Linked DNA regions of Homo sapiens: region 1 is linked to region 2. The links are contacts of gene promoters, found by promoter capture Hi-C in blood cells and fetal thymus (Javierre and others, 2016). All regions are on one chromosome and are shown on one strand. The core of a region is centred on a gene start or on the middle of the fragment in contact, and the rest is flanking DNA. Distances in the headings are between cores, read along the strand shown. Region 1 overlaps SORL1 (sortilin related receptor 1). Region 2 holds the start of SC5D (sterol-C5-desaturase).

Region 1 (6,246 bases), core at 3,392-5,891, 270 kb before region 2:
AATCCACGTTCTTCTGCCATGGCTTCAGCTGGTCCCTCCGTTCGGGGTCCCGGACTTCCCACAACAAGTAACATGATGGTAAAGGGGGAGGAGGAATGCCAAGCACACGTGTCTACAGGGAAGGAAATGTCCCATACTAGCCTCTTGCTTTCCTCTTTTAGTTAAAATCAAAAGAGAGGAGGAGGCTGGAAGAAATATTTAGAAGCAGATACAATGCTTTAAGAAGGATAACCACAATACCAGTTGAGTCTATTGGGTAGTGAATACAGTACATCAACATTATAAAATACTAATTACACACAGAACTCCTTAATGGACTGTGTCTACACAGAATTAAAACATACAGATTCAATATATCTATAGGTATGTTTTTATATACATAGTTATATATATCCATATATATTCTATCTATCAAGCAAATGAGTTATGAAGATTTTCTCAATACTCTGAGAAATTTTTCTGCCCCATGACTACTTTAAAGCAAGCAATTAAAATTCCTTACAGAAAAAAAATGTATAGTTTGGCAAACTGCATCAAGGACATGCGATGATTGGTCTCATATTTGGATAATCAAAGGCATTCTAATGGGAAATATGGAGTAGCTTTCTTCCCCTTCTCTTGGAATTTAGTGTTGATTCTATTTCTTTCCAAACAGTTTTAAGATTGTATCCATAGCCTGAAAGAAAGTCTCTTGTTTCTAAGAAAGAAAGGCTCATCTTTTTTCTGTTTATATTTCTTAAGGAAGATTGACTAAAAGGCTTGTATTGTGTGTTTCACTGCCTTGGACTTGGGCCGCTGTGAGAAGCAGGGTTAGGATTACAAAGCAAATAGAGTAGGCACAGTGGCTCATGCCTGTGATCCCAGCTCCTTGGGAGGCAGAGGAGGGAGGATCCCTTGAGCCCAGATGTTCAAGACCAGACTGGGCAACAAAGTGAGACCTCGTCCCTATAAAAGAAATTAGCTGGGCTCGTGCCTGTAGTCCTAGCTTCATGGGAAGCTGAGACAGGAGGATCCCTTGAGCCCAGGAGTTTGAGTTGAAGCTGCAGTGAGCCGTGAATGTGCCAGCCTGGGCAATACAGCAAGACCCTGTCTCTTTCTTGTCTCTTTAAAATATATATAAAAAAAAAGGCAAATAGAATCACAGATAAGGAAAAGCAGAAATTCTGGCCATCAATCCATGCACTTCATGGCAAGGTGCCCTTGCAGGGGTTCACCTCACTCACAGAAACGTGATGCTGGAGGCGGGGGAAGTGGTGACAGTAAAAATTACACAGGAAGGAAAAACTTTTTAAATTTCGGAGGAAAGAAATGTTAAATCTCTATATTCAAATTCAGAGGGGGAGTGGGTGTAAGGCTGCTCTTGCTGCTTGGTCATGGCATAAGGTCTAGACTCAAAGTGCTTTGCAAACATTGGTCTGAAAGTTCAGGACACACTGGGCTAGGCTACGGTGAGAGGATGGACAACCGTTAGGTGAGAGTAAACGCGGAAGGAGTCACACTGGTTATTTTTCCCAATCAGGTTGGTCCAACTTATGCAAAACAGGAGCAGGTAAGAAACCTGGATGTGAGGGATGGGTGAGGAGAGGAAGAAGCAAAAGAATAAAAAGGGAGACCCTGAAGAAAGCCTGTGCCATCTGACATGAAACCAAAAACCACAGCTACTACTTAGAAAGGTACAGCATAGGCCTGTTCTGAGTGAGGACTGAAGGGCCTCTTTGACCCTTACCAGGACTTAGAACCCAAACCAGTATTCTTATGAGTATCTGGTAGGTTTGATTTTTACCTTGGACTTTTTCCAATAACACGAAAAGGTTAGGAAACAGAGAGCTATCCCTCCCTCCCCTGGCGGGGAGCAGGAAACAAAGGAAGGAGGATGACAGGCAAAAAAGAAAAAGGGAAGTACCTTGTTTGACACAGGTATTGTTCTTGAGCTGATAGCCCTGAGGGCAGTCACACATCAGGTCCCCTGATGGAAGCACACTGCTGGACACATCCTCTGGACACCTGCAGCTTCTACTGTTGTTGGCCTTGGGCAGGCACAGCAGGCTGCATGGCCTGGGCACACAGGCATTGCTTCCTGGAGGGAAGACAAACAGCAGCAGGTAGGTTAATACACACCATGAGGGAGGTACTGAATACAAGAAGGAGACCCACTGCAACCTCCTCGTCTTACGGAAAGGACAGCGAGAAGCTCTCAAGGGTCAAGTGGCAAGCTTTGGGGCGCCTACTGTGCTGAAAACTTCTGCTCAGTATAACCAGTGACTTGCATCCTGTCTTCAGCCAGATCAGACTGCCCCAGAGCCAAGCCAGGCAGCAGGGTTCCTCCTGGGAATTTGTAATTGGGTCACTGAAAGACAAGAAAGCAACCAAGGAGCTGGAGCCAGGGAAAGGGTCACAGAGCATGGGTGTTGAAGTGGCACATGGCAAGCCAAAACCGTGTGGAAGTCAAAACTCTGGGTATGCAGATAAGCTCAGTCTGCAGACCGTCAGGAGACTAAAAGAGACTTAAGGAGGCCAGGCATGGCAGCACGCACCTGTAGCCCCAGCTACTCAGGAGGCTGAGGCAGGAGGATCACTTGAGCCTGGTAGCTCGAATCCAGCCTGGGCAATATAGCAAGATCCTATCCCTTAAAAAAAATTTTTTTTTTTAATTTAAAAAAGAACCAGAATGTCTTTGGACTTCTCAATTACAACACTAGTGGCTATAATATAGTTGAACATTGCCTTCAAAATTCCGAATAATTTTTTTTTTAAAAAGAAAGAGGCTTACAGAGAGAAGAGGCCTAATGAGAGGGAAAGAGAAAGAACAGCTCCAGTCCCCATGAGGCTCTCCTAGACTTTCATCTTTGGGCTCCTTTATTCATTCCATAAAACCATTCACTTGAGCTAGCTTGAGTGGGTTTCTGCTCCTTAGGGCCCCAAAGGCCTTAATTAGAACATACACCTGGTTAATGGTGGGCCCAGGACAAAAATCCAGGCCTCCCCTTCTCAATTCCTTTGTGCCAGAGTGCCCCTCAAGAGCTAAAGGAGGAGCCAACCACAGTACTCATCAGCCACTGCTGTGCAATGTGTTCAGGTAAGGACTAGTTCATGCTGATCTAGCCCACTCCTGCCAATCTTTTCTCTGGTTCAGCTTACTAAAGGCAGCACCGGAGAGAGTTCGTAAAATCCACCACTGCACTCTTGAGAAGGAGCCTTTGTGGATGAACGAGGATGGCAAAAGTGCCATCCTATCCCCTACATCGTTCCGGGGATGGCAGGTAAGAAGATGCATAAACCATTTTATAACAATCTGAAACATGATACAACTATGGGGTCACAGAAACTATGAAATCATGTTTTTTCTTTTGACTGCAATTATTAATCATGAAAATGGGAAAAATGAACATAAAAACTTAGATAAAACTCAATTGCTAATTCTTCATTCGTGCTATGTCATGGACAGAGATGCCCTCCCACACTTCAGCACCATATCCAAATCATCTGTTGCCACCCAGCCAAGCATTCATCTAAGCCATGCCTATCCTGGCCTACAGGTTAGACGAAGTTCATGAATGATAATCAGTGTCGATATGGATAATATACGCAGTAGCTTTGGGTGTGTGGGCACATCATTGGTTAATTTACATTACAAATAAAAATAAAAATCACAATGCTATGGCAACAACGTTATTATGATGCCAAGGAAAAGAGTAAGAGGTATTACCAAAGAGAAAACACACACATCCAGAGGAAGGGAGGTTCATATGATGAAACATTCCAAAAGATTCAGTAAATAGAGAGAAAACATACACCTCCAGAGGAAGGGAAGTCCACATGATGAAACAGTCCAAAAGGTTCAGTAAATAATCAATCATAACAGCTTAATTACCATAGCAGACTAACCAGCTGACTAGAGCAGAAGTCCCAGACATCCCTTCACTCTGATCCATTAGTGGGCACAGATGGCTCCTTTAGTTCAAAGGTACAGGCCACTGGCTACAAGAGGGAATGCAGAATTGACATAGAGCCACCACTCATGAGAAACAACTCAAACAAGGATGTGGGAACATGTGTTTTGTATTCAAAGAACAATATATCACTCAATGTTCCAAGATCCTGAACAATAATGGAATATGATGTTATTTTAAAATACTCTATTACCGGCTGGGTGCAGTGGCTCACATCTGTAATCCCAGCAGTTTGGGAGGCCGAGGTGGGAGGATCACTCGAGCCCAGGAGTTCGAGACCACCCTGAGCAACATAGTGAAGACCGCCTCCACAAAAAAAAAATAAGCAAAATTAGCCGGGTACACATCTGTGATCCCAGCCACTTCAGAGGCTGAAGTGGGAAGATTGCTTAAGCCCAGGAGACAGAGGCTGCAGTTAGCTGAGATGGCGCCACTGCACTCCAGCCTGGGTAACAGAGCCAGAGCCTGTCTCAAAAACAAACAAACAAACAAAACGAACAAATAAAAAAAACTACTCTATTACAGGATGATTTTTTTCACAGGGATCATGTCTGTAAAATCATTTCACTAACCTTTTCATATGCAGAGCAAATATTCCTATCCAAACAAGCAAGAAGAGCTAAGAGTAGAGAACTCAAAATGGGGTATCATATTTCAGGAGGCTGATCTAGGCAGAAATGTATGAAACTGTACTCTGAGGCAGTAACCAGGGGCAAACTGCAAAACAAGCTAACCAAGTCACTGATCCTAAGAGGTAGGCAGGGGCAGGAATGTCTAGGCTAGTCTGAAGCCAGAGAATGGAAAATGGGAGAGCTGCATCAGAGAGAAGCTGGAAGAAGATGGAAGGGTAATTCACCAACTCCTATGATGGCAGTTCTACCACAGCCACAGACCCTTTATACAGGATGACAATTGTCTTGAGTGGACCAGGCAATATGAAAACCGTTATCTCAATGTGAAGAGTGGACAATCATCTTCAAAGACATTCCCTTAGAAGATCAAACACATAGCCCCGTGATGTCTTCACTGGGCATGTTCAGAACATTTTCACATTTCCTGTTTGGAAAATTCCTCCAGGAATACTTTAGGAGCCAAAAATGTCATCATCTCAAGTATCTATACACTTGGCAATTATCAAAATCAAATCTACCTCAAATAATAAATATGTGCCCTCATTATAGATACTTAAAAGCACATACTTACTGCAGGCTCTAAAGGAGAATTCCAAAACTGCAAAAGAATTCCAAAGCTCCAAGAGCCATCGCAGGAGCAACTGAATACATCAACAATCTTGTAAAGTAACCTCTTTAAAGAAAAAACACACTTTACAAAGAATAAATTCCAGTTATACCATTTAAAAACCAGCTAGTGGCCAGACACAGTGGCTCACACCTGTAAATCCTAGCACTTTGGGAGGCCGGGGCGTGCAGATTGCCTGAGCTCAGGAGTTCAAGACCAGCCTGGGCAACATGGTGAAACCCAATCTCTACTAAAATACAAAAAATTAGCCAGGCATGGTGGCACATGCCTTTAGTCCCAGCTACTTAGGAGGCTGAGGCATGAGAATTGCTTGAACCCAGGAGGCAGAGGTTGCAGTGAGCCAAGATCACATCACTGCACTCCAGCCGGGGTAACAGAACGAGACTCTGTCTCCAAAAAACTAAACAAATAAAAAATAAAAACCAGCTAGCTATAAAGGACCAAATATTTCAAATTGATAAATGTTGCAACTGAACAACATTTTTATTATGAACCATCATCAATCAAAATCTAGAACAGTACTTCTGAACTGCTGTCATACTACCAGGGCACTGCTATTCTAGCAACACATGACAGAGGGAGCAGAGCCGGGTGGTTTTATCGAAGTTCAGGCTTTGAAGTCAACGGGCCACAGTGCAAATTCTTACCACTTACTAAAAGTGTGACCTACACAAGTTACTAAACCAGACTTTCATATTCTCACCTATAAAATGGAAATATTGATAGTACATATAGAAGTCTTTGGGAAGACGAAGTGAGGTTATACAAGCCCACAAAGCACATTACTGTGGTACTTATAACACAGCAACCCCTCAATACATGTAGTTACTATCAATTATTATTATTTAACACTTGGTTAATATAGTAGTCCCCTCTTATTCCAAAACCCCCAATTCCAAGACCCCTAGCTGACACCTGAAACTGCAGATAGGACCAAACCTATACTGTGCATGAATTTCTTTTTCTTTCTTTACAATTTCAGAGATAGAAGGTTCGTTCTTACAGCAGATCTTAGCAAACTCGGTGTAAGATTTTT
Region 2 (5,827 bases), core at 2,564-5,063:
AGATCAGAAAAGACAACACAACTACCTCAGCTTATGGTAAAAGGCTTCCTAGTGAATATGATATTAGATTTGGACTTTGAAGGACATCACCAGAAAGAAAAGGTTAGGGATAGCCATTCCAAAGAGAAGTCACAACTGCAAAGCAAGAGAAGAGCATGATGCATTCATGGCTCACTGCGTGTGGTTGGTGGGTGTTAGACAGGGTGATGGGGTGGAGCAGAGGGAAAAACATGTTAGGGGATGGACTTGTAAAGGAGATTTGTTAGACTACGCATGGAGGGATCTGCTGTCCTGCTGAGGAATTTGGACTTTCTCTCACACGCTATGAGGAGACACTAAAGATTTCTAGGTAGGAAAAAGATACAATCAGACCCACATTTCATAAAAACCATTCCATTAGAAATCTGGACTACTAGGCTAGGTGAAGTGGCTAATGCTTATTCCCAGCACTTTGGGAGGCTGAGGTAGGAGGACCGCTTGAAGCCAGGAGTTCGAGACCAGCCTGGGCAACACGGCAAGACTCCGTCACTATAAAAAAGGAAAGAAAAGAAATATGGGTTATCGGTGAGAAGCAGGGAGACTAGTTTGGTTGTTCCTGTGGTAGAATAACCCAGAGAAAATGATAGCCTGACCTCGGGCAGTGGCTGTTAAGACTAGCCAGCAGAGATTTCGCGCAAGTAAAAACACCCACAGGATTTGGATAACCCACGTTTGCTGGGAAGTGAAAGAGAGAGAAATCTAGGATGACTGTGAGACTTTAGCTGGTCTAAGTAGATGGTGATGTCATTGTAATTGAAATAGGGAATACTGGCAGAGCTAGCAGATTTGGGTAGGGTAGGAATAGGGGGTGGGTAAGGAATGATGGTGTGAACAGAAAATAAATCTTGGGACTCCAAAATCACTAAGCTAAGAGAAAAGTCAGGCTGGGAACTATGTTAGGCAAACCTGCCTCCCGCTTTATTCCTAAATAAGACAGCTACAAGGATGAGAAGCTACATCCCTCCCTCACAATTTGCCCTCAGAAAATTCCTTTGTGGATAAAGGACAGACAGGACTCAAAGTCATCCCTCTGAGGCTCACCTGACACAAATGGATTTCTGATTGCTTCCTCTGCCCTATTGTTTATGTAAACATGCAGATTCACTGAGCCAGACGAAATGTGTGCATTCAGTGGAAGGCTAATCAAGGACTCAAAATAATGCAACCTTTGTCTCTTATCTGCTTCTAACCTGGAAGCCCCCACTGTGAGTTGTCCCGCCTTACCAGACCCAACCAATGTACTTCTTACACATATTGATTGATGTCTCATGTCTCCCTAAAATGTATAAAAGCAAACTGTGTCCCCGACCACCTTGGGCACATATTGTCAGGGCTTCCTGAGGCTGTGTCACGGGTGAATCCTTAACCTTGGCAAAATAAACTTCCTAAATTGACTGAGACCTGTCTCAGATATCTGGGGTTCAAAACGGGTTCAATGTAGATCTTAAAACCTAATTATCTGTGGCTCATCTTCTATCTTAGATATAAGCAATAGGCCACATGTAAATATAAATGTGAAGTTCAAAAGCGAGCCTGGTTAGTATACAGGTAGTAGTTGAAGTTATAGGGGTGAAGACTGCCAAGGGAGGTGGTGTAGCAGGGACAGGGTACTACGTAATATCAGATAACATAAACATTTAATAATTGAAAAGGATATTGCTATATCACTAAAGGTTGGTAACAGCTGATGAGCCAATCTACATGTTCCCCACAGTGCCATGTGGCCCTACTTCAATACAATACCTAGAATAGTATCGTGCAACCAAAAAGAACACAAACATGTTTGATTGCTGTGAGGTTTAGAGACTAAGTAGACTTTTGACATTTGACCCAAGAAAGGTACTCAATAAAATAGCATCTATATGATTATCACTGTTAAGGCCGTCAAAAATGCGTCAAAATTACTTCAATAGAAGATAAAATAGGTGCCACTTGATTTTTGTTTGAAAAATAACTGACAGTAGTTGATAGTAATATTTAATATATACTAGGTAATATAAATATTTTAAATATATTAACTAATTTTCCCTTTCAAGAAGCCTCAAAGGTAGGTACTAGTATTATTTTATAGATGAAGAAGCTGGGCACAGAAATTTTAAGTAACTTGCATAGGGTCATAAGAGTAAATAAATGCTGGAGCTAGGATTCAAATACACACAATCTAGTTGCAAAGTACGTGAACTTCTGCCAAGTTCTATAGCCTCTTCACCACTACTTCAAGTCGTCAACTCCTGAATTTTTAAAAATGTTCAGTGCCTCTACAAGCTCATATAATTTTAAGGGGTTATAAGCCCTGAAGTTAGGGGTCCCAAGGACCCTAAATTAAGTACCACTGCTTCAAACAGAAACTTAAATACTTTGTCCTTGCAGAATTAAAGAAACTTCTTCTTAAAACTCAGTTATAATAACAATATTAGGCTTAGAACAACTCAGTCTACCATTATCTTTTTGCCCTACTTTAAAAGTATAGAAAATGATAGCTAATATTTATTGAGAACCAGGTATTATTTTTGTATAACCTCATCTAATCCCTATACCTCTATGAGATAGGTACTTCTATGCTCCCCACTTTATAGATAGGGAAACTGAGGTCAGAGTATTTAAATAACTTGTTCAGTAGCAAGCAACAATAACAGAAAAAACCAGCTGGGATGTACATTCCACAACCTTTCTCTTTGCTACCACGTTATGTTATCTCTCAAGATGTTTTATATGCAGATGAGGGATTCTGAGTACCACCCCATGCTAATTAATTACATTACATAACGAATGGAAAAGCACTCTGTAAATGATCAAGGATCAGTTATTATTTACTAGGTATCAATCATTAGAAACTTTAAAAAATGATAGTGATATAAAGACAAATAACTTCCAGAGGGTTTCCTCTAAAAGTACCGAGCTGCCACAAACTTTCCAGTTTGGAAACTCTATGTACTGAGGTCTTGTTTTCTTCACTTACACCACCTCCAAATCTACTCTGCTGTAACACAGGGATGTCAGTATACATTATTTTTCCTTTTATGATGCAAAAGGAACAGATTATTTCCCTTTTCCTTTCAGTCTCCTCAGCCCCAGATTGCTGTCCCTTCATTCTAATTACGCCGCAGCAACAGAGGCTTGCAATGGTCAGGAGTTCTGATACCGACCAGTTCTTCAGCCTGATTCTTCTGGCCTTTAAAAGAAAAAAACCCTCCCAGAACGAAGGGAAAAGTAAAGCATTCGTGTTCAGCAGCCAGACCAGAATTCCCTTGAGTAAGAGATCTGCAACACCCAACATCAAACACTGCATTTTCTTTAAGCCCGTCCACGGTCGGCTCCTTCAAGTCCAGGCCTCCCTATCGGCCCCGCGATCCCTCCCAGCGCGAGCGGAAGGCCCCTCCGCCCGGACTCCCAGGTGGCGCAGCCCTCCAGGCCCCGAGGTCCCCCGGCCCAGCCCTCGCCGCCAGTCTTCGGGATGCCAGGCTACCTGCCAGCCTCTCCTCTCACTCGGCGCAGGACTCGGATCCGTATGCTACCGCGATCCTACCATCCGCCCAACGCCTAGCACCCAGAGGGCACTCGCTAACCAACCGCGGCGCGGAGAAAAGCCGTGCTGCGAGGACACCTTCCGCCTCGCCCACCCGAGTCCCAGGCGCTGAAGTCTCTCCATCTTCTTTTATTCCATCGCCCCCCGGCCCAGCCCGCTCAGGTGTATTCCGCTTCCTTCCCCGCCCACCCACCGTCCCCACCTGGAGGTGGTCCGCCGCCGCTCCGCACGCCACTGCTCTGCAAACTGTCCTAGCAGCTGGGCAGCCAGCAAGCGGGCCGGGAGGCTGGAGCGGCCAGCCAATCAGCGACCGGCGCCATAAGCTGATATGACGGCAGATCGCGCGAAGGGCCTGCGCGCAGCTCTCCGCGGTCACGTGGGCGCCGCGCGCTCGGCCACGCCCCCTTTGTCCTCTGACTAAGGGGAGGGCGGGCGCCCCATCCGAGTACCTTTGCGGTGGAGGATGCGGTTTCGGGTTTTGCGTTTGTTTCTTTGCTTTCTTTTTAAACTAGCTCTTGTGTCATTCATGGTGGTACCAGGCAGGTTTACGGTGTTTATACAAACATTCCTAGAACGGGTGCCCTGCGTTGAGGGAAATAGACGACACTTCCTTTGACGCGAATGTCTGGGTCGTTTTCTCCCTCAAGGGAGGAGGTGCAGATGTTCCCAAACAGGTGCTCAAGGTTTTAAGACGTAGTCCCCCCGATTTTCTAGCGCTGAATGGCTGGAGGCTCCGCGAGCCGGTGTATGTAGGGGTCTAAATGGTGACAAGATGAGGGTAAACATGGACAGAAACCTTTTCACGATACAAGTTGTTGAAAACCAAGGTTAACGCAGATCTAATTGGCTTTGATTTGCTACACATGAATCGAGCAGCTCCGATTTCCTGAAACAGAGCTGAGCAGAGGAGGGTGGCTTCACAGGCAGAAGAGGACGGAGGAAAGCAGAAATAAGGAACCAAAAGATCTGTCGTTTCAGAGTGACTTTCCTTAAACAGAGATTAAAACAGAGGGGACTGACTTGTGATACCAGCTCAGCAACTTCAAAGTGGCAAACTGGGCCACTTTACCTATTACATAAATAATATGGGGAATACATGACAGAAATGAGGGATTTTTAAGGGAAAAAAATAACATGATTCGATCTGCCTTCAAAAGACTTTTCCGGTAGTTAAACTTCAAATGTACATAGGATACTGGACAAAGTTCAAATGAATTTAAAATAGTGTAGGTGGTTTTTTTAAAAAAGACTCATTATATAAATAAAAATAAATTTTAAAAAGTTTTGAGTGTCTACTTCGTTTAACACATCGTACTGAACACCGGGAATGGAAAGAGATGTTACAATAATGACAAAGACATGGTTCCCAACCTTAAAAAGCTTATGTGCTGTGGGAGAAATGGGCATGTATAAATAACTATGTTGCTTATTACAAGGACAGGAAATAAACAGTAATTGGTGGTATAGGCTGAGCACAGAGACAAAATGGCTATTCTGATGAGGGAAATTAGGGAAGGAACATTGTTTTGCCCAATGAAATGATTTGAATGGACACTTTAAAATGTTATTGAGCATAGATGATAAAACATTTATTAAACGAATAAAAGCTCAAAAGTGAAATGTTATAAGCAAACATCAAATATCCTGAATCTCTAGAATTTTATTGTTGAATATGCCTTAGCTATTACAAGTGGTCTTTATTCTTGGTGACTTAGGGATTCCCAAGAAATTTGCAATCACTCCTGACAACTCAAAGTAGTAATAAGTTAACCTCAAGAGAACAATCTTGTTTAAAAATAAATTTAAGTGTATTTTTTAATTATTATTTAAGTTCTGGGATACATGTGCAGAACGTGCAGGTTTGTTACATAGGTATACATGTGCCATGGTGGCTTGCTGCACCTTCCAACCCGTCATCTAGGTTTTAAGCCCTGCATGCATTAGTTATTTGTCCTAATGTTCTCCCTCCCCTTGCCCTCCACCCCCTGACAGGCCCCGGTGTGTGATGTTTCCCTCCCTGTGTCCATGTGTTCTCATTGTTCAACTCCCACAGTTGAACAACTCCCACATACTCAATGAGAATATGTGGTGTTTGGTTTTTTGTTCTGTGTTATTTTGCTGAGAATGATGGCTTCCGGCTTCATCCATGTCCCTGCAAAAGACATGAACTCATTCTTTTTTTTATGGCTGCATAGTATTCCGTGGTGTATAAGTGTATTAATAGCACATCCTGGGGTGCAGCATTCCTACATGTCTTTTCTA

Evidence for each region. The method cuts DNA at HindIII sites, captures the fragments that hold promoters and counts their contacts. A CHiCAGO score of 5 or more calls a contact.
Region 1: a fragment that was not itself captured here is called in contact with the fragment with the promoter of SC5D in region 2 in 9 of 17 cell types (non-activated CD4 T cells, neutrophils, total CD8 T cells and 6 more); the score reaches 11.4 in non-activated CD4 T cells.

The regions. Positions count from the first base shown.
Region 1 is chr11:121,562,771-121,569,016 of GRCh38, reverse strand. It overlaps SORL1 (sortilin related receptor 1), which reads right to left. Exons shown (of 48, transcript NM_003105.6): 22 at 1,904-2,077. Among named protein-coding and RNA genes, the nearest start is that of SORL1-AS1, 110 kb to the right of the region's middle. The HindIII fragment of the contact is 4,851 bases long and covers 2,216-6,246 here.
Region 2 is chr11:121,290,757-121,296,583 of GRCh38, reverse strand. It overlaps SC5D (sterol-C5-desaturase), which reads right to left and starts at 3,813. Exons shown (of 5, transcript NM_006918.5): 1 at 3,768-3,813. RefSeq lists enhancers at 224-766, 767-1,308, 4,022-4,071 and a silencer at 3,802-3,851. The HindIII fragment of the contact is 7,130 bases long and covers 1-4,947 here.